Regions from separate parts of the Homo sapiens genome. Here all the other regions are linked to region 4. Evidence: promoter capture Hi-C in human tissues and cell types (Jung and others, 2019). All regions are on one chromosome and are shown on one strand. The core of a region is centred on a gene start or on the middle of the fragment in contact, and the rest is flanking DNA. Distances in the headings are between cores, read along the strand shown. Region 1 holds the start of NDUFS7 (NADH:ubiquinone oxidoreductase core subunit S7). Region 2 holds the start of RPS15 (ribosomal protein S15). Region 3 has its middle 19 kb from the start of PLK5. Region 4 holds the start of REXO1 (RNA exonuclease 1 homolog). Region 5 overlaps PEAK3 (PEAK family member 3). Region 6 holds the start of MEX3D (mex-3 RNA binding family member D). Region 7 holds the start of PLK5 (polo like kinase 5 (inactive)).

Region 1 (2,700 bases), core at 118-2,617, 460 kb after region 4:
CAAAGTGCTGGGATTACAGGCGTGAGCCACCGCGCGTGGGCCAGGCATTCTTAACAAGGGGCCTGGTGAGGATTCAGAACTGTGAATTTGCTTGGAATAAAAAAATATATATGTCTTTGTTGTCACCAGCATCTTATGGAAAATTAGCCCTTCATTCAATTCTTAGCGTAGGCTGGGTGCCGTGGCTCCCAGCACTTTGGGAGGCTCAGGTGGGAGGATTGCTTGAACTCAGAAGTTCGAGACCAGCCTGGGCAACAGGGCAAGACCCCCATCTCTACTAAAAATACAAAAACTAGCCAGGCATGGTGGCGCACACCTGTGGTCCCAGCTACACAGGACACTGAAGTGCCAGAATCGCTTGAGCCTGGGAGGCACAGGTTGCAGTGATGAGCCAAGATGGCACCACTGCACTCCAGTCTGAGCGACAGAGGCAGACCCTGTCTTAATAAATAAATAAAAAATTCTTAGCATAGACAACAAAATACGGCAGTATTAGCAGGACCTGTAACTTTTCACCAAGCGGAATCACAGATGTTTCCTAGCTATGGTGCAGGGGCTGCAGACGTTTCCGTATCATCAAAGCCTCATTTCCACTCCTCACTCCTTCCAAATCACAGTCGCAATTAGACCTGCCGCTAGATCGCGTTCATAAGGGAAGCACTTAGATTACTAAGTCGCCAATCAGGTTTCAAGACAATCTTTTAATAACTGCCTCTCCGTGTAACTGATTTCCTTGCAATTCTATGGATTTTATTCCATGCATTTAATAACTTTATCTGAGCAGAGGTCCGCAGGCTTCAGCTGATCCCAAAAAAGTCCCTGGAGCAGGACAGGCTCTGCGAGAGGCCCTTACCTCCCAGGGGTGGGGAGGGAGGTGGAGGGTCCAGCAGGGTGGCGTGGATGTCCTGGGTCCTGTTCCTTCCCAGGCCCGGCCCTGTGACCTCGAAGACCCTCAATGGGCCTCAGTTTCCCAGCCTGTCAGGCAGGCCCCGCTCTCTCCAGGGCATCTCAAGAGCAGCCTCGCGGGCCGTGCCCTGGTCTCGGGGACGTGAATGGGGCCCCTCCAGCCTCCACCCCGAGCGCCTTCCTGAGGCTGGAGGCTTGCGTCATGACCTACCGGGCCTCGGTTTCCCCGACTGTACTCTGGACGCAATAACGGCGACCGTTCATCGCAAGCCGGGCGGGGAGCCCGAGGAGCGGCCGGCTCGGAGAAGCCCGGAGAGGACCGCGGCCACGACGCCGGCACCGACCCCCGACGCCACCACGACACCCGAGGCTCCCACGGCCCCAGACCCGCGCGGCCCCACACCCGCCGCCGGTGCCGCGCTCACCTGACAGCACCGCCATCTTGGCCTCGGCCTTCAGACAACCTCTGAGGTCCGTTCTCCTTAGCGCTCCGGGTTCCCGGGGCCGCCGCCCAAAGCGGCTCGGAGCGCATGCGGAAACCGGAACCTGGAGCCGGGAGGTTCCGCTGCGCTTTCGGCCTCCGTGGTCGTGTTGCGCCGTGCACCCCCAGATCACCCGAGGCGGAAAGGTCATCGGAGTGCGCACGTGGGGGCCGCGGGTCTGCGGCGGACCGACAAAAACAGAGGCGACACTCATTTTCTTGTTATTCCAGGAGGGCAAAAGTCACCACGCGTCCCTGGGTGGGCTCGAACCACCAACCTTTCGGTTAACAGCCGAACGCGCTAACCGATTGCGCCACAGAGACGACACTGCGCTCCGGCGCCCTGGGAGACCTTACAAAGGATGTGGGGCCTGCTGACGCGAAACGACTGCGCCTGCGCAGGGAAGGCGCAGCGCGGGACGGAGTCCCGGCGAGAGCGACTCTGCCGCCCAGCCGAAATAGCTCAGTTGGGAGAGCGTTAGACTGAAGATCTAAAGGTCCCTGGTTCGATCCCGGGTTTCGGCAGAAGTTTTAGCGCCTCTTGCGATCACTGATGTCTTTCGTTCAGGATTGGTCCAGCTGCCTCGCAGCTATCCCGGACCCCTTACCGCAACATCACCGCATTCTGCAGAGGAGTCGCCGCGATGTGGACTCATCCCAAAGTAAGGGGGCTCAGACCTCACAACCCCAAAGCCTCCTCTTCCCACCCCTAAGAGGTCATAATTTCAGCTCAAACTTCCCCCTTCCCTGACACACCCTCGATTTTCCATCTTGCTTAAATTGATAAGTTTACAACCAGTACTAATGATATAAAAACTAACACTAAACACCCAAACTAGCAAAACAGAGTTTGCAGAACGCTTTCTGCATGCATATCATTTAATTTTCACAATTCCACTGGAGGTTTTGTCTGCCTGTTTTATGATTACAAAAACAGAGGCAAAGGCCGGTGCGGTGGTTCACGCCTGTAATCCCAGCACTTTGGGAGGCTGAGGCAGGCAAATCACCTGAGGTCAGGAGTTCAAAACCAACCTGGCCAATATGGTGAAACCCTGTATCTAAATCCCAGCTACTCGGGAGGCTGAGGCAAGAGAATCACTTGAATCCGGGAAGCGGAGGTTGCAATGAGCTGAGATCGTGCCACCGCACTCCAGCCTGGGCGACAGAGTGAGACTCCATCTCAAAAAAAAAAAAAAAAGAAAAAAGAAAAAGAAAAAGTAAAGAAAACAGAGGCTCAAATTAGGTGAACACAGGTGACTAGCAAGACTGGGGGCCCCTTGAGGACCACAACAAGTGTTTACTGAATTCGTGCC
Region 2 (2,700 bases), core at 1-2,500, 410 kb after region 4:
AGGCGGGAGGGTCGCTTGAGCCCAGGAGTTCAAGACCAACCTGGACGACACAGAGAAACGCTGTTTCCACAAATAATCAAAAATCAAGGTCGGGCGCGGTGTTCACGCCTGTAATCCCAGCACTTTGGGAGGCCGAGGCAGGTGGATCACCTGAGGTCAGGAGTTTGAGACCAGCCTGGGCAACACTGAAACTCGTCTCTACTAAAAATACAAAAATTAGCCGGACGTGGTGGGGGGGCCCTCTAATCCCAGCTACTCGAGAGGCTGAGGCAAGAGAATCGCTTGAACCCGGGAGTGGGAGGCTGCAGTGAGCTGGGACGGAGCCATTGCACTCCAGCCTGGGCGACAGGATGAGACTCCGCCTCAAAATAATCAAAAATTAAAAAATAAAAGCGCAAGCCAGATGCCCACCACCACCCTGCCTGGAAAGGACCCAGCGACCTCCACCGCCCTTAAAATCTAAGGAGTCTAACGCAGCCCCTTATTCTAAGTCACGTGGGCTACAGACAGGGGCTACACCTTCCAACTAAGCCGCGGAAAAGTGAACAACGGGGGGCAGGTTGCAAATAAGCAAAAACCTCAACGTCTCTGGACAGTTTTCTGGGCGCAAGACCACACTCAGTTCCAAACCCGCGCGGAGACCGTGCCCGCCCACCGCCGCAGAGGCGCTTGGACCCCCGCCCCGCCGCCCTCACCCGGACAAGCCCCACCGCTGGCCCAGCCCCTGCCCGCGACCCCCGCGGCCGCCCTTACTAGGACATGTCCAGCAGCTGGTCGAGGTCCACGCCGCGGTAGGTGAACTTGCGGAAGGTCCGCTTCTTCTTCTGCTCTACTTCTGCCTGTGCGGGCGCGGATCGGGCGTCAGCGGGATCCCGACACCCATCTCCCGGGGCCACCGGGCCCGAGGACACCGCGGAAGACGCGCGGCGCCGCCGGGGACAGAAGCCCGACAGGGACACACCGCTTCGACCCGTCCCCGGGGATCACTCGCGGCTCCGGGTTACGAGGACCCGGACATGAAGGCCCGGACAGGCCTTCCCAGCCCCGCGTCGTCCCGACACCCACCAAGTCCGCCCCTCGCCCCAACATCCAGCCGCCTGCAGGGTCGGGAGCAAGCCGCCGTAGCCGCGGGGACGAACTGCGGCCCCCGCGAGACGGTCAGAGGTTGGATGGAGCCGGATAGGCCCGGCAGAGACGCGCCAAATCGCAACACTCACCATCTTGCCGGATCCTCAGAAGAGATCGCTTTGGTCCGCGCCTGCGCAGTTATCGCGAGACTGCCGGCATGTCCCGCCCCCTCGGCCGTGCGCGCACACGCGCTTCCGCTTTCCCGGCGGCGAACACGCGCCCTCTGCCGTCTGGAGGGCAAAACACAGGCTGCAGGGATTAGAGCAGCCGCCGCCTGAGGTCTGCAGAGCCGCTTCCTCCACGGAGTGGGACTTTGGACAAGTCGCCGCCCCTGTCTGAGCCTCGGGTTCGTGCTCCGTCATCTACACGATGGCACCCACATCAACAAGTATTTATGGAGCGCCTACCGTTTGCTCGTAGGTGCGGTTTGGCGGTTCAGGTCCCACTGTGGGAGGAACACGAGAATTCATTACAGATACTGGAGCAGGGACAGGGCCTCGCTGAAAAGAACCATTCCGGCTTTAACAGATAAAATTTTGTATATAAAGTTAGTAAGGACAACACAGTGAGACTGCCTCTCTACAAAAAAATACAAAAATTTGTGTACACACGGACATAAAAGAATAAAAAGTACAAAAAATTCCCAGCTACTCGGGAGGCTGAGCCTTCAGCCCAGGAGGTCAAGGCTGCAGTGAGCCGTGATCGCGCCAACGGCACTCCAGCCTGGGCGACAGAGCAAGACCCTGCCTCAAAAATAAAGTTAGGAATATCACTGGGTTTGTTAAGATATGTAAATGTAATGTGAATAATGATAGCTCAAAGAGAAGGAGTAACTAGAACTATGTAGGAGTGACTTTTTTTTTTTTTTGAGACAGAGTTTCACTCTTGTTGCCCTGGCTGGAGTGCAGTGGTGTGATCTCGGCTCACTGCAACCTCTGCCTCCTGGGTTCAAGCGATTCTCCTGCCTCAGCCTCCCAAGTAGCTGGGATTACAGGCACCTGTTACCGTGCCCGGCTAATTTTGTATTTTTAGTAAAGACACGGTTTCTCCATGTTGGCCAGGCCATGTTGGTCTCGAACTCCTGACCTCAGGTGATCCACCCGCTTTGGCCTCCCAAAGTGCTGGGATTACAGGCGTGAGCCACCGCGCCTGGCCTAGGAGTGATGTTTCTGTATCTTACTGGAATTAAGTATAAAGTTGAAGGTGACTATTAACTATGGATGTGGCACCTGGCTGGGCGTGGTGGCTTATGCTTGTAATTCCAGCACTTTGGGAGGCCGAGGCGGGCGGATCACCTGAGGTCAAGAGTTCAAGACCAAGCTGACCAACCCTAACTCTACTAAAAATACAAAAAATTAGCCAGGCGTGGTGGTGGGTGCCTGTAATCCCAGCTCCTTGGGAGGCTGAGGCAGGAGAACCGCTTGAACCCGGGAGGCGGAGGTTGCAGTGAGCTGAGATCGCACCACTGCACTCCAGCCTGGGCGACAGAGACTCCTTCTCAAAAAAAAAAAAAAAAAAAAAAAAGAAAAAGAAAAAAAAAAAGCACAAAACCTCTGGGAACCCGAGCTTAGC
Region 3 (2,700 bases), core at 111-2,610, 310 kb after region 4:
CCAGCATTTTGGGAGGCCAAGGCAGGTGGATCACCTGAGGTCAGGAGTGCGAGACCAGGCTGGCCAACATGGGGAACCTCCTCTTTACCAAAAATACAACAACAACAAAAAATTAGCCGGGCGTGGTGGCGGGCACCTGTAGTCCCAGCTACTCGGGAGGCTGAGGCAGGAGACTCGTTTGAACCTGGGAGGCGGTGGTTGCACTGAGCCTAGAACACACCACTGCACTCTCGCCTGGGCAACAGAGTGAGACTCCATCTCAAAACAAAAACAAAACAAAACAAAACAAAACAAAAACGGGTGTGGTGGCTCACGCCTGTAATCACAGCACTTTGAGAGTCCAAGGCAGGTGAATCACGAGGTCAGGAGTTCGACAGCAGCCTGGCCAACATAGTGGAACCCCATCTCTACTAAAAATACAAAAATTAGTCGGGCGTGGTGGTGGGCGCCTGTAATCCCAGCTACTCCGGAGGCTGAGGCAGGAGAATCGCTTGAACCCCAGAGGCTGCAGTGAGCTGAGATCACAAAATTGCACTCCAGCCTGGGGTGCATTAAGGACACTCCATCTCTAAAAAACATATAAGTAAGATTTCACATGGATACAATCCATCAATCTTACTCAGGATTCCTCAGTTTAACTTGTGATCGTGTGTGTGAGTGTGTGAGATGTCTTTAGTCTCCTATAATTTGCTGGCCTGGGTAGATTCGTGTATCCACCATCATGACATGGAGCATTTCCATCACCATCAGGATCTCTTGCTGTTTGTGCACCCTCCCCGCACCCTCATCCCTAACCCTAATTCCATTTCTAAAATGTTACATAAACTTTTTTTGTTCTTTACACAGGGTCTTGCTCTGTTGCCCAGGCTGGACTCCAGTGGTGCAACTACAGCTCACTGCAACCTACATGAACTCCTGGGTTCAAGGCATCCTCCTGCCTCAGTCGCCCAAGCAGCTAGGACTACAGGTGTGCATCATCATCCTTGGCTTATTTATTTATTTATTTATTTATTTATTTTGAGACGTAGTCTTGCTCTGTCGCCCAGGCTGGGGTGCGGTGGCGCCATCTCGGCTCACTGCAAGCTCCGTCTCCCCGGGTTCACGCCATTCTCCTGCCTCAGCCTCCCGAGTAGCTGGGACGACAGGCACCCGCCACCACGCCCGGCTAATTTTTTGTATTTTTAGTAGAGACAGGGTTTCACCGTGTTAGCCAGGATGGTCTCGATCTCCTGACCTCCTGATCCGCCCGCCTCGGCCTCCCAAAGTGCTGGGATTATAGGCGTGAGCCACCGCGCCTGGCCTTAATTTTCTAATTTTTTATAGAGATGGGGTCTCACTATGTTCCCCAGGGTGGTCTGGAACTCCTGGGCTCAGGTGATCCTCCCACCTCAGCCAACTGAGTAGCTGGGACCACAGGCACACCCCACTATGCCCGGCTAATTTTTTTTTTTTTTTTTTTTTCCCGAGACGGAGTCTCACTCTGTCACCCAGGCTGGAGTGCAGTGGCGTGATCTAGGCTCACTGCAACCTCCGCCTCCGTGGTGAAAGTGATTCTCCTCCCTCAGCTCCCCGAGTAGCTGGGACTACAGGCGCCCGCCACCACGCCCGGCTAATTTTTGTATTTTTAGTAGAGATGGGGTTTCACCATGTTGGCCAGGCTGGTCTCGATCTCTTGACCTTGTGACCCGGCTGCCTCGACCTCCTTAAGTGCGGGGATTACAGGCGTGGGCCACCGCGCCCGGCCGGGACAGGCTTTTTTCACTCAGCGTAATTCTCTGGAGTCATCAGGAGTTTGAAAACTCCCCGTGGGACCCAGGTTGACCTACCTACCAGCACCCCATTTTTTCATAGATTGAGAACCAGCGCCTCAGTGTCCCCATCTGTATAGTGGGAGAGAAAAGGTCCCTGCTCCCGGGGCCTTGCCAAGGTGCAAGGAAGCTTTATGACGTCACACACAGTTACCACGGGCAACAGCCAATCCTGCTGGCCCCAGAGGTAGCCGCCCTTGGTCCCGCCCACGCCTTGCTTGCTTGCTGGTGATTGGAGGACGCATGATGTCACGTGCTCCCATAGACCAATGAGGAGGTGGTCTGGAGGCTGGGTTCAGCTGTAGCCTCAGCGTGGGAAAAAGGGTAAAACGGAACTTTGGGGCCGGGCGCTGGGGCTCACGCCTGTAATACCAGCACTTTGGGAGGCCGAGGCGGGTGGATCCCCTGAGGTCGGGAGTTCGAGACCAGCCTGGCCAACATGGTGAAACCCCGTCTCTACTAAAAGTAGAAAATTTATCCGGGCATGATGACGCCTGTAGTACCAGCTACTTGGGATCCTGAGGCACGAGAAAAATCTCCTGAACCAGGGAGTCGGAAGCTGCAGTGAGCCGAGAGCACGCCACTGCACTCCAGCCTGAGTGACAAGAGCGAGACTTTGTCTTAAAAAATAAAACTGAGCTTTGGAAATTCTTGCCAGGACAAGTTTTCCCTCTCTCAGGGTTAAATCAGTGGTTTCCAAAAAGAAAAAGAAGGAGAAGGAAGGAGGAGGAGAAAGAGGAAGAGAAGGGAGTAGGGAGAAGAAGGAAGAAGAAGGGAAGAAAGAAAAAAAAATCTTTGAGCCAGGGCTGGAGTGAATTCATGACCATTTCTTGAAGTTCCAACCCTTGTAAGCACCCAAAAAAGTGAGGCTATTAATTTTATTTCTGGCAGC
Region 4 (2,726 bases), core at 155-2,654:
GTCACCCAGGCTGGAGTGCAGTGGTGCAATCTTGGCTCACTGCAACCTCCGCTTCCCAGGTTCAAGTGATTCTCCTGCTTCAGCCTCCCAAGTAGTTGGGACTACAGGCGCCCGCCACCACGCCCAGCTAATTTTTGTATTTTTAATAGAGGTGGGGTTTCGCCATCTTGGCCAGGCTGGTCTCAAACTCCTGACCTCGGTTGATCTTCCCTCCTCGGCCTCCCAAAGAGCTGGGATTACAGGCGTGAGCCATCGCGCCCAGCTAATTTTTGTATTTTTAGTAGGACAGGGTTTTGCCATATTGGCCAAGCTGGTCTTGAAATCCTGGGCTCAAGTGATCCACCCGCCTCAGCCTCCCAGAGTGTTGGGATTACAGACATGAGCCACTGTGCCCGACCTAAGACTTTGCTTTCTATTCTTTTTGGGTGTATACCCAGGAATAGAGTTGCTCATAGGGTAATTCTGTTTAACTTTTTCCATCTCTACACAAAATACAAAAAATTAGCCAGGCATGATGGTGCACACCTGTGGTTTTAGCTACTCGGGAGGCTGAGGTGGGAGAATCACCTGAGCCAGGGAAGTCGAGGCTGCAGTGAGCCGTGATCGCACCACTGCTCTCCAGCCTGGGTGACAGAGCAAGACCCTGTCTCTTAAAAACAAACTTTTTGGGTTTTTTGTTTTACATAGCAGTGGCACTATTTTACAATCCCACCAAAATGCACCAGGTTAAACTTCCCATTAAGACGTGGGCCTACTCCACCAGACTACAGAGTTGCCCCATCCCAGCCTTGTTCCTCGTTTGTCTGTTAAAATGCACCCTCTAGCTGGTATACAGTAGGCGCTCAATATTTGTTGAACAAATGAGTGAACGTGGACCTGGTCATTAGACTGATGACAAGAGTCGAGGTTGGGGAGATTAAGGCGTTTCTTGAGAGCCAGCTGTATACCAGGGCGAGGGGATTTTTAAAGACTGTGAACGGAGTAATTCAACCATGAGTTTCACCTGGCCCAGGTTTAAGGCCACCTCCCCGCAGAACTCTCCTCGTCCAGCAGAGGGCGCCTTAAGGTGATATGCTAACGAAAGGAAATAATATGCAAATGAGTAATAGCGGGCCCCGCGGGGCTTTTTTGGTCAGGCGCGCCGTGGACAGCCCTGGCGCCGCAGGGGCCTGGGGCTCAAGATGGCGCCGCTACAGCCGCCGAAGGTCGGGCGGCGGCGCTGGCGAGGCTCCCGGAGACCGCAGGCAGGGCAGCCCCTGCCCTCCTTACTTCCTCCCGCGGCCGTCTGTCCCGGCCCAGGGGTCCGTCACCAGCCTTGGTCGCGCAGGAGCAGGCGTTTCTGAGCAGGCGCGCTGCGGGCAGCCCCTCCCGGGGTCCCTTGCGGCGGCGTCCCGAGGGCCTCCGGGGGCCTCGGAGCAAGATGGCGGCGGCGGGGTCCGTGAGGCGCGGGCGGCGGCGACCGCGGCGCCAGTGAGGGGGCCCTGGGGCCCGGGCGGCTCCGGGCCGGGGCCCCGCCGCGGGACGGACCATGCTACGCTCCACTGGCTTCTTCCGGGCCATTGACTGCCCCTATTGGTCTGGGGCGCCCGGGGGGCCCTGCCGGCGGCCCTACTGCCACTTCCGGCACCGCGGGGCCCGGGGCTCCGGCGCGCCCGGTGACGGCGGAGAGGCGCCCCCCGCAGCAGGTAATGCCCGCCCGCCTGCTTGCCTTGGGCTCGGCTCCCCTGCCCGGGTCTGGACCCCACCCCGGTCCCGCCCGGGGTCCCCGTTCTCGGCCCAGCCTCCTCCCCACACGTTCGCGGGCGACGGTTTTCCCAGTCGGGACCGGAACCACCCACCCTGGGACCCGGTGCAAAGCACTAGATGTCCCTAAGCCTTCGTCTTCACGAGTGTGAAATGTCAACTAGGAGGACGCGTCCTGCCAGGGCTGTCTAGAGGGCGGAGTGCGAGCGCATGTTGAGTACCGGGCACCGGGCCTGACACAAGGGGGCTCGGGAGACGGGCGCGGCCGGCGCTAGGCAGGTCCTGGACTCCTCCTGCCCCTGATTGGCGCCCGCCGCTTCCCGGACCCCATGTGCTTGTGGCCGCCCTTGTTTATTTCCATGACGTTTCCTCCGGCCGCGCCTCTGGCAGCGGCCACCTCAGTCTCCAGTCGTTGAGTTAGGATGGTCCGAGGATCGTCTCTTGTGTTTGTCGAGCCCTGTGTCCAGCATGACTGGCAGGGAGGAAGTCAAAGCTTACTCGAGTGGGCTCCGAGGAATTCCATGCTTTTGGTCGGGCAGAGGACGTTGGTGGACTCCACCTCACAGCGTCATGGTGGTTTTCATCGTCATGGCAGCGTTTCTTGGAGGAGATGTGGGATTTGGATTGGAGAAAAAGAGGGACATCGCAAGGAAAGTCGTGGAGGGAGGGTTATCGAGTGTGATGTCATTCAGACTCCCCTGTTACCTCTGTCCCTTGATAGTGGCTCTCTGCTTCACCCAGCCCCTGACTTCCTTCGTCCCAGATTTCCTCATTGGGCGTGAGTTTCAAGCACTGTTTTTACTTTAACCATGAAACAGTCTCAGCTCAGAACCTTTTCCTGCAAAAGAGAAACATCTTCTCTAGGATTTAAGAATAGGTTTATTTTCCTGTTTTGCCAGAAAAGGTAGCATTTTTTTCTGATTTCCCTGATAAGTGTGCTTGGGACACCTGCACCTGTGGGCGGTTGTTTGCAGGTGGACAGA
Region 5 (2,758 bases), core at 125-2,624, 430 kb before region 4:
TGCCGCCCAGGCTGGAGTGCAGTGGCACAATCTCGGTTCACTGCAAGCTCCACTTCTCAAGTTCACACAATTTTCCTGCCTCAGCCTCCCGAGTAGCTGGGACCACAGGCGCCCACCACCAAGCCCGGCTAATTTTTTGTATTTTTAGTAAAGACGGGGTTTCACCGTGTTAGCCAGGATGGTCTCGATCTCCTGACCTCGTGATCCACCCATCTCGGCCTCCCAAAGTGCTGGAATTACAGGCATGAGCCATTGTGCATGGCCGCGTCCGGCAAATTTTTAAAAAATTTTTGCAGAGACAGGGTCTCACTATGTTGCCCAGGCTGGTCTCAAACCCTAGGTTCCAGTGATCCTCCTGCCTCGGCTTCCACCTTCCTAAGTGCTGGGATTACAAGCATGAGCCACCGGCGCCCAGCCTCATTACTTCCATGTTAGAGATGGGGAAACCGAGGCTGAGAGGTGGAGTCACGTGTCCCGTTCCCACTCCGCCTGTCCTCAACCCTCCCCCACTGTCTCTCCCTGCAGGTCAGATCCGTGCCCACCTGCTGCCCTCCAAGGCCTGCCGCCTCCGGACCCCTGGGTCCCTCTCCACCAACCCAGAGCCCCTGCCCCCACCCCTGCCCAAGAAGATCCTAACCCGGACCCAGTCACTGCCCACCCGCAGGACCCTCCATCCCAGCTCCATCCAAGTACAGCCGCCTCGGAGACCCTTTCTGGGGTCCCACAGTGTGGACAAGAGCCAGGCTGCAGTGGGACCAGCCTGTCTCCCTGCAGAGCTGACCTTTGGCCCGGCTGACGCCCCACTGGGCCTCTCCCTCCGCGATCTGCACAGCCCGGAGGCTGTGCACACTGCACTGGCTGCGCGGCAGCTGCAGGGCCTCCGTACCATCTATGCCCGGCTCCGTGCCCGGCTCATGGGGGGCCACCCCGGGCCCTGCCACCCCGGCCACAGCTTCCGCCTCCTAGACAGCTCACCCTGCGCAGAGAGCGGGGACGCCCTGTATTACCGCGTGGTGCGCGCGCACGAGGACGCCTGGCACATCCTGGTCGCCAAGGTGAGCCCCACAGCCCCACCCTCTCTGAGGTGTCCCCAGTGCCCCATCTTAGACATAACCCAGGGCTTGTTTCATTTGGCCTTTCTGTGAGTCAGTTCTCACACTGCTGTAAAGAAATACTGGAGCCGGGCGCGGTGGCTCACGCCTGTCATCCCAGCACTTTGGGAGGCCAAGGCGGGCGGATCAGCTGAGGTCAGGAGTTCAAGACCAGCCTGGCCAACATGGTGAAACCCAGCCTCTACTAAAAATACAAAAATTAGGTGTGGTGGCGGGCGCCTGTAAACCCAGCTACTTGGGAGACTGAGGCAGGAGAATTGCTTGAACCCGGGAGGCAGAGGTTGCAGTAAGCCAAGATTGGGCCATTGCACTCCAGCCTGGGCAACAGAGTGAGACTCCGTCTCAAAAAAAAAAAAAAGAAAAAGGCCGGGCACAGTGGCTCACACCTGTAATCCCAGCACTTTGGGAGGCCGAGGCGGGCAGATCACGAGGTCAGGAGATACAGACCATCCTGGCTAACACGGTGAAACCCTGTTTCTACTAAAAAGACAAAAAATTAGCCGGGCGTGGTGGTGGGCACCTGTAGTCCCAGCTATTTGGGAGGCTGAAGCAGGAGAATGGCATGAACCCAGGGGGCAGAGCTTGCGGTGAGCCGAGAACGCACCACTGCGCTCCAGCCTGGGCGACAGAGCGAGACTCCGTCTAAAAAAAAAAAAAAAGGCTGGGCAGCACAGTGGCTGACGCCTGTAATCTCAGCACTTTGGAAGGCCAAGGCGGGCAGATCATGAGGTCAGGAGTTCGAGACCAGCCTGGCCAACATAGTGAAACCCCCATCTCTACTAAAAATACAAAAATTAGCCGGGCGCGGTGGTGCGCACCTGAAGTCCCAGCTACTTGGAGGCTAAGGCAGGAGAATCACTTGAACCTGGGAGGCGGAGGTTGCAGTGAGCTGAGATTCGAAAATTGGGCTATTGCACTCCAGCCTGGGCGACAGAGTGAGACTCTGTCTCAAAAAAGAAAAACAAAAGAGAAGAAAAAAGAAAAGAAAAGAAAAAGGAATACTGGAGACTGGGTAATTTATAGAGAAAAGGGCCTTAATTGGCTCATGGTTCTGGTGGCTTCTGCTTCTGGGGAGGCCTCAGGAAGCTTCCAATCATAGTGGAAGGCGAGGCGGGAGCAGGCATCTCACACGGTGGGAGCAGGAGGAAGGGAGGGAGGAGGTGCTACTCACCTTTACACAGCCAGATCTCACGAGAACTCACTCGTTATCCCAACGACAGTGCCAAGGGAGATGGTGCTGAGCCATTCATGATAAACCACCCCCAAGATCCAAGTCGCCTCCCACCAGACCCCACCTCCAACACTGGGGAATGAGATTTGGTGGGGACACAGATCCAGACCATATTAGACTTGTTTATTTTGCAACTAACACGTGAATCAACGCAGTTAACCCAGGAAACCATGTTTCTAAAGTATGGGGCCATGGGTATGGCCTTGGAGCTCTTGTCAAAACCCCTCCCACACCTCTCTGGCCGGGGATCTGCTTTTGTGTTTTTTGTTTTGTTTTTTGTTTTTGAGACAGAGTCTCACTCTGTTGCCCAGGCTGGAGTGCAGTGGCGCGTTCTCGGCTCACTGCAACCTCCACCTCCCGGGCTCAAGCGATTCTCTCACCTCAGCCTCCGAAGTAGCTGGGATGACAGGCGCGC
Region 6 (2,700 bases), core at 42-2,541, 280 kb after region 4:
TTTATCACAAAAAACCCCACAGGTGCAAGGAAGGCCCCGAAGGACAGCTGGAGGAAGAGCCGCTGGGAAAGCGGCTATTTTTTTTTTTTTTTTTTTTTTTTGAGAGGAGTCTTGCTCTGTCAACCAGGCTGGAGTGCAGTGGTGCAATCTCGACTCACTGCAACCACCACCTCCAGGGTTCAAGCAATTATCCTGCCTCAGCTTCCTGAGTAGCTGGGATTACAGGTGCGCGCCACCACGCCTGGCTAATTTTTGTATTTTTAGTAGAGTCGGGGGTTTCACCATGTTGGCCAGGCTGGTCTCTAACTCCTGACCTCGTGATCCACCCGCCTCGGCCTCCCAAACTGCTGGGATGACAGGCATGAGCCACCGCGCCCGGCAAGGGTGGCTTTAGAGGTGGACAACGCCCGTTGCGGGGAAAGGCACCCCAGAAGAGGGTGGGGCTCCACATGGAGGGTTCTGGCTGGTGTGAGCCTGCCCTCGCCATGGAAGCACCACTGTGGTAGAGAGGTCTCTGGCTGGGGGCACAGAGACCGGGTCTGTGGCCTTGGGTGGGGCGGAGGAGGTGGCGTGGAGGAGGTGGCCTGATCCCAAAGCCGGGAGCCAGCCAGAGGGGAGCTAGGAGAGACTAGGGGAGAGGGACCTCAGGCCCTGGGGTGTGCATGATTGTGGAGCTGTCCCTGGCACAGAGGCTGGGGGTGGGGCAGGGGCCTGACCCTAAAGCCCACCTGATAGCAAGGGGTACTTGGGGACTGGGACCCCAGGCCCTGGGGGGTGCACCGTGGGGCGGGGGTTGGACCCTGGCACAGAGGCGGTGGGCGGGCAGGAGCCTGACTTCGAAGTCCAGTGGGATCGCGAGGGGGACTTGGAGAGGACCCCACGCCTTTATGCAGGGAGGTGGGGGTCCCTGGCACAAGGAAGCGGGCGTGGAGCAAGAGACCTCGCTTGGGGGCGACCCGGATCTCTAGGGGAAATTGGGGAGCGGGACCTCGGGCCCTGGGGCGCGCGAGGCAGGGACTCTCAGGCTTGGGGAGGGAGCGCTGTCCAGGCAGGGGCTGAGCCGCACACACCTGCAGCAGCGCCCGCACGTGCGGATGCGCCCGGGTTCCCGCCCGAGCGCCGGGCGGAGGCGGGGCCTGGACCACGTGCCCGGCGCCGGCCCCGCCCCGGCCCCGCCCCGCGCGCCTGCGCCCTGGGGGCCGCCCATTGTTGGGCCGCGGCGTGACGTCGCGGGGGCGGGGCCGGGGCGGGGCCGCGGGAGGCGGCGGGAGGGAAGGAGCGTCCCGCGCCGCCGCCGCCGCCTCGGCCGCCGAGGAGCCGCCGCCGCCGTCGCCGCCGCCGCCGAGCCGCAGCCAGAGTCGCTGCCGCCGCCCGGCCCGGCCCGGCCCGGCCCCGAGCAGCCCCGCGCCGCCGCCGCCCCGCCCGCCCGGCCCCCCGTGCCCGCCCCCGCCGCTGGATGCAGGCGGCCGGCGGCCCAGCTCGCAGAGGCGGAGGGCGGCGCGGGCGGCGGCGGCGGCGCGGGCGGCAGGAGCGCGGGCCCCAGCGCTAGCTCCCGCCATGCCCAGCTCGCTCGGCCAGCCCGACGGCGGCGGGGGCGGGGGCGGCGGCGGCGGCGGCGTGGGGGCGGCGGGGGAGGACCCCGGACCCGGACCTGCGCCCCCGCCCGAGGGCGCCCAGGAGGCCGCGCCCGCGCCCCGGCCGCCGCCCGAACCCGACGACGCGGCCGCCGCGCTCCGCCTGGCGCTGGACCAGCTGTCGGCGCTCGGGCTGGGGGGCGCTGGCGACACGGACGAGGAGGGGGCGGCCGGGGACGGCGCAGCGGCGGCGGGGGGCGCGGACGGCGGGGCGGCTCCGGAGCCTGTGCCCCCCGACGGACCTGAGGCCGGCGCGCCCCCGACCCTGGCCCCCGCCGTGGCCCCCGGGTCGCTGCCGCTGCTGGACCCCAACGCGAGTCCCCCGCCGCCGCCGCCGCCCCGGCCGTCGCCCCCCGACGTGTTCGCGGGCTTCGCGCCCCACCCCGCGGCCCTGGGGCCCCCGACGCTGCTGGCCGACCAGATGAGCGTGATCGGCAGCCGCAAGAAAAGCGTCAACATGACCGAGTGCGTCCCGGTGCCCAGCTCCGAGCACGTCGCCGAGATCGTGGGTCGCCAGGGTGAGTGGCCCTCGTCGGGGGTTGCTGTCCTGGGGGTCCCCGCACCGTCCGCCCCGGGGAAGGGGGTCGCCCGAGCCCAGCCCAGCCCGCGCCGGACGCCCCGCACCGGACACGCCCCGCGTGGGCTCCGGCCTCGGCCGCTGCCTTTGCGCCTTTGTCCTGCAGCCGCCGCGGGAGAAAGTTGGGCGCAGCCCGCGCTCCTCCCCTGCGCGCTCCGGCCCCGCCGCCGCCTTTGTCTGGGCCGCCTCCAGCCCGGAAAGGCTCCGGGGAGCCGCGCCGCAGCCCAGGCCCTCGGCCGCCCGCAGGGGCACCCCAGAGAGGGGCTCGAGGGCCCGGGGCTCCGGCCGGGCGGGGGGCGCCCCACACCCAGCACAGGCGGCGGGGCGGGGCAAGCGCAGGTTTAGGGGTGGCTTAGGGGGGCCGCCTGCAGGACCGGGAGAGAAGGCTGACAGTACAAAGAGCGCACGTCTCAGTCTCCAGCCTGGGGCCCTGACTGGGGTGGGGACGGGACCGGGCAGGAGAGGGTCCCTGCTCCACTCTCTGGCCCC
Region 7 (2,700 bases), core at 1-2,500, 320 kb after region 4:
TGTAGCAGCGGCTGAAGGCGCCCTGTGGGGAGGGGTCAGCAGATCAGTGGGCAGGTGTGCACGGGTGTGCAAGCTGGCAGCGCGTACAGAGGCACAGGGCAGCCAGGGACGCAGGCGCGTCCAGGTCTCTCCACACACACACCGGGGAAAAAACAACACACAGCTCCCACCCTCCCGCCTGGACACACAAGACATGATGCACACAAGAAGGCACAGAGACACAGACACAGACACATCCACGCCTGGTGCATAGAGGCCACGGACCAGAAGACAGCACCGGATGCACAACACCACGCCTGAATACGACACACAAACACGCAACGCCCAGACACAGAGTCACCATGCATGGACACACAACACAACACCCAGATACACAACGCAGCAACACACAAACACATGAATATACAATGTCTGGACACACAGTCACCACGTGTGGACACACAACACAATACCCAGACACAGCACAGGAACACACAAACACATGAACACACAACACCTGGACACACAGTACAACACATGGACAAAGACACAGATACAAACACATGAACACACAACTCCTAGACACACCACATATGAACACACAAACACACAAGCACACCACATGAACACACAACACCCAGACACACAACACAATGACTGGACACACAAAGGCATGACGCACAAACAACAGGTGAACAAGCAACACAACACCCAGACACACACACACACACACACACACACACACACGAACACCGCACAGCACCCAGACACTTGGAAGCAGCGGGCACAGACGCGGCACACTCAGACCCTCGCCAGGCTCGCACACACACCCAGGGGCAACACAGCGTCGCATCCCGAGGCCGAGCCGCACGCCCACACCCCGGACACGCAACCCACGGACACGACGCACAGCGCGCTCAACACGGTTCCCGCCATGCGAAACCCCGCACGGGAGGCCCCGCGGCTCCGGACGCGCGCCCGCTCCAGACCCCGCGCTCGCAGGGACGCGCCGCGTAGACCGCGCAGGATCGCCCGCGCGCCCCGGGACCCCAGCCCAGCCCGGTCCGGCCCCGTCGCGGACTCGGGGCGCGGGCCTCCCACCTTGCCGATCAGCTTCCCGCGCCTGTACACGCGGCCCGAGCCCGGGTCTCGCAGGAAGGCGGCGACCAGGGGGCGACTCCTGCGCCGCCGCCGCGGCCGGGGCTCCATCGCGCGGACTCTGGCGCAGCCGGGCCGAGACCACCGCGCTGCGGCCGCTCCGGGGCCGCTCTGAGGGCGCAGGAGCCGCCGGGGAGCGTTTTATTGGCCGCGGGGGCGGGGAGGGGGCGGAGCCCGGGCGCAGGTCCAGCCCGGGGAGGGGCGGGAGGTGCCCGGCCGTGGAGTGGGGGGCGCGTGAGCGGCGGGGACGCCGCGGCTGGGGAAGTTCCACGGACCAGAGCGCGCCCGAGTCCCGCACGCCAACCGGGCGCCAGGGGCCGCGCTCAGCCCGCGAGCTCCTCCGACCCTGCACACCCGGGCTGGCTGGGAACCGCTGATACGCCCGCTTTACCGAGCGGGAAACTGAGGCTCTCTCGCGCGTGGGGGGTTGGGGGCTTCCGGGGGCTTCTCCCCCACAGTGCGCTTGAGGTATGAGCCTCGACGTTCTGAATGTGTGCCATTTCGGGTCCTCCCTGCTGGCGGGTCCCTGGGGCCCACATGAAAACCTGGGGCTTGATGGCCCTGGGCACTGGGGAGCCACAGCAGAATTCGGAGCGGCAGAGAAGCCCAGCGTTTGTGATGCTGGGGCTGGTGGGGAGGGCGGTGAGGCCTGGGACAGGGACCCAGGAGGCAGGACCGGGGCTTGGGGACGCATGGGCTGGGGTCCTACAGTGTAGTGGATGTCCCATATGAGGGAGCTTCAGCCCGGAGAAGGGATGGGCTGTGTGGAGCAGCAGGTGGACCCTGGCTGGGGTTTGCACGGACAGCCAGGTGGGGACGTCCTTGAAATGGCGACCTCAGAGAGCATCAGAAACCTCAGAGAACTCAGAGAACAGCTGGGTGGGAAGACAGTGGGGGGCTTGAGACTCCCCCGGAATCGTGGGGGTGGTTGCTCCAAGCCCTGCCCCAGACTCAGGTGCACCCCTTTCCTGGTGAGGTCTTCCCTCACCCTTCCACCCAGCCTGGGACACAAAAACGGGCCTTGTCCCCATTGTACAGGCAAGACATTGAGACCCAGGGACGCAAAGTCGCTCAGTCAGCCCAGGAAAGGGCAGCGCTGGGTTTGAATCCCGGCAGCCGCCCCTGGACGCCTGCGGTATTAATCCCCAAATGTTACATAACACCAGGAATGGGGAGGGGTTACCAGGCTCCGTGGGGCTGGAATTTTCCAGGGACCAGATTTCGGAATCTGGCCCGGCCACACCACTAGGGACAGGAAACACCTTCTGAGCCGTCACGTGTCCACCTGGTGTCACGAATGGGGCCCCCGTGCATTGGACGGGGCTGAGCTCGGGCACCTTTGCGGGGTTTCTGGTCCCAGGGCCAGGGCGGAAGATTCCTGGCCAGCCTGGGGCCACCGGGTTGCAGCTGGGGAGCCCAAGTCCCCTGCTGATGAGAATCAGGTGAGGTGGCTGCAAGGTGGGCTGCTCGGGGCCCGAGTGTCTGAGCTGTCACACGACTGTCACCCTGGAATCCTCCAGGGGCAGAAAGCCAGTTCCTTGCTTTTTTTTTTGTTTGTTTGTT

What was found. The method cuts DNA at HindIII sites, captures the fragments that hold promoters and counts their contacts. A contact is called where the count stands out against the background at its distance.
Region 1: the fragment with the promoter of NDUFS7 here is called in contact with the fragment with the promoter of REXO1 in region 4 in 1 of the 25 tissues and cell types used here (dorsolateral prefrontal cortex).
Region 2: a contact is called between the fragment with the promoter of RPS15 here and the fragment with the promoter of REXO1 in region 4, in 3 of the 25 tissues and cell types used here (aorta, dorsolateral prefrontal cortex and lymphoblastoid cells).
Region 3: a fragment that was not itself captured here is called in contact with the fragment with the promoter of REXO1 in region 4 in 1 of the 25 tissues and cell types used here (lymphoblastoid cells).
Region 5: a contact is called between a fragment that was not itself captured here and the fragment with the promoter of REXO1 in region 4, in 2 of the 25 tissues and cell types used here (lymphoblastoid cells and spleen).
Region 6: the fragment with the promoter of MEX3D here is called in contact with the fragment with the promoter of REXO1 in region 4 in 2 of the 25 tissues and cell types used here (dorsolateral prefrontal cortex and lymphoblastoid cells).
Region 7: a contact is called between the fragment with the promoter of PLK5 here and the fragment with the promoter of REXO1 in region 4, in 3 of the 25 tissues and cell types used here (IMR-90 fibroblasts, lymphoblastoid cells and mesendoderm cells).

What each region holds. Positions count from the first base shown.
Region 1 is chr19:1,382,574-1,385,273 of GRCh38, reverse strand. NDUFS7 (NADH:ubiquinone oxidoreductase core subunit S7) reads right to left here and starts at 1,367. Exons shown (of 8, transcript NM_024407.5): 1 at 1,332-1,367. The coding sequence starts at 1,347. TRF-GAA1-6 (tRNA-Phe (anticodon GAA) 1-6) reads left to right here and starts at 1,840; the gene lies at 1,840-1,912. It overlaps TRN-GTT2-6 (tRNA-Asn (anticodon GTT) 2-6), which reads right to left and starts at 1,711; the gene lies at 1,638-1,711. RefSeq lists silencers at 1,238-1,297, 1,548-1,687, 1,868-1,997. The HindIII fragment of the contact is 12,722 bases long and covers 1-2,700 here.
Region 2 is chr19:1,436,946-1,439,645 of GRCh38, reverse strand. It overlaps RPS15 (ribosomal protein S15), which reads right to left and starts at 1,250. Exons shown (of 4, transcript NM_001018.5): 1 at 1,218-1,250; 2 at 754-839. The coding sequence starts at 1,220. RefSeq lists enhancers at 1,007-1,226, 635-1,505. The HindIII fragment of the contact is 20,902 bases long and covers 1-2,700 here.
Region 3 is chr19:1,542,112-1,544,811 of GRCh38, reverse strand. No RefSeq gene overlaps it. Among named protein-coding and RNA genes, the nearest start is that of PLK5, 19 kb to the right of the region's middle. The HindIII fragment of the contact is 4,742 bases long and covers 1-2,700 here.
Region 4 is chr19:1,847,161-1,849,886 of GRCh38, reverse strand. REXO1 (RNA exonuclease 1 homolog) reads left to right here and starts at 1,404. Exons shown (of 16, transcript NM_020695.4): 1 at 1,404-1,685. The coding sequence starts at 1,529. RefSeq lists enhancers at 937-1,016, 1,037-1,186 and a silencer at 1,207-1,676. The HindIII fragment of the contact is 7,366 bases long and covers 1-2,726 here.
Region 5 is chr19:2,276,881-2,279,638 of GRCh38, reverse strand. PEAK3 (PEAK family member 3) reads left to right here. Exons shown (of 4, transcript NM_198532.3): 3 at 526-1,055. Among named protein-coding and RNA genes, the nearest start is that of PEAK3, 3.9 kb to the left of the region's middle. The HindIII fragment of the contact is 7,382 bases long and covers 1-2,758 here.
Region 6 is chr19:1,566,916-1,569,615 of GRCh38, reverse strand. MEX3D (mex-3 RNA binding family member D) reads left to right here and starts at 1,291. Exons shown (of 2, transcript NM_203304.4): 1 at 1,291-2,152. The coding sequence starts at 1,558. RefSeq lists silencers at 1,012-1,061, 1,102-1,291. The HindIII fragment of the contact is 18,806 bases long and covers 1-2,700 here.
Region 7 is chr19:1,522,627-1,525,326 of GRCh38, reverse strand. It overlaps PLK5 (polo like kinase 5 (inactive)), which reads right to left and starts at 1,250. Exons shown (of 14, transcript NM_001243079.2): 1 at 1,081-1,250; 2 at 1-22. The HindIII fragment of the contact is 15,366 bases long and covers 1-2,700 here.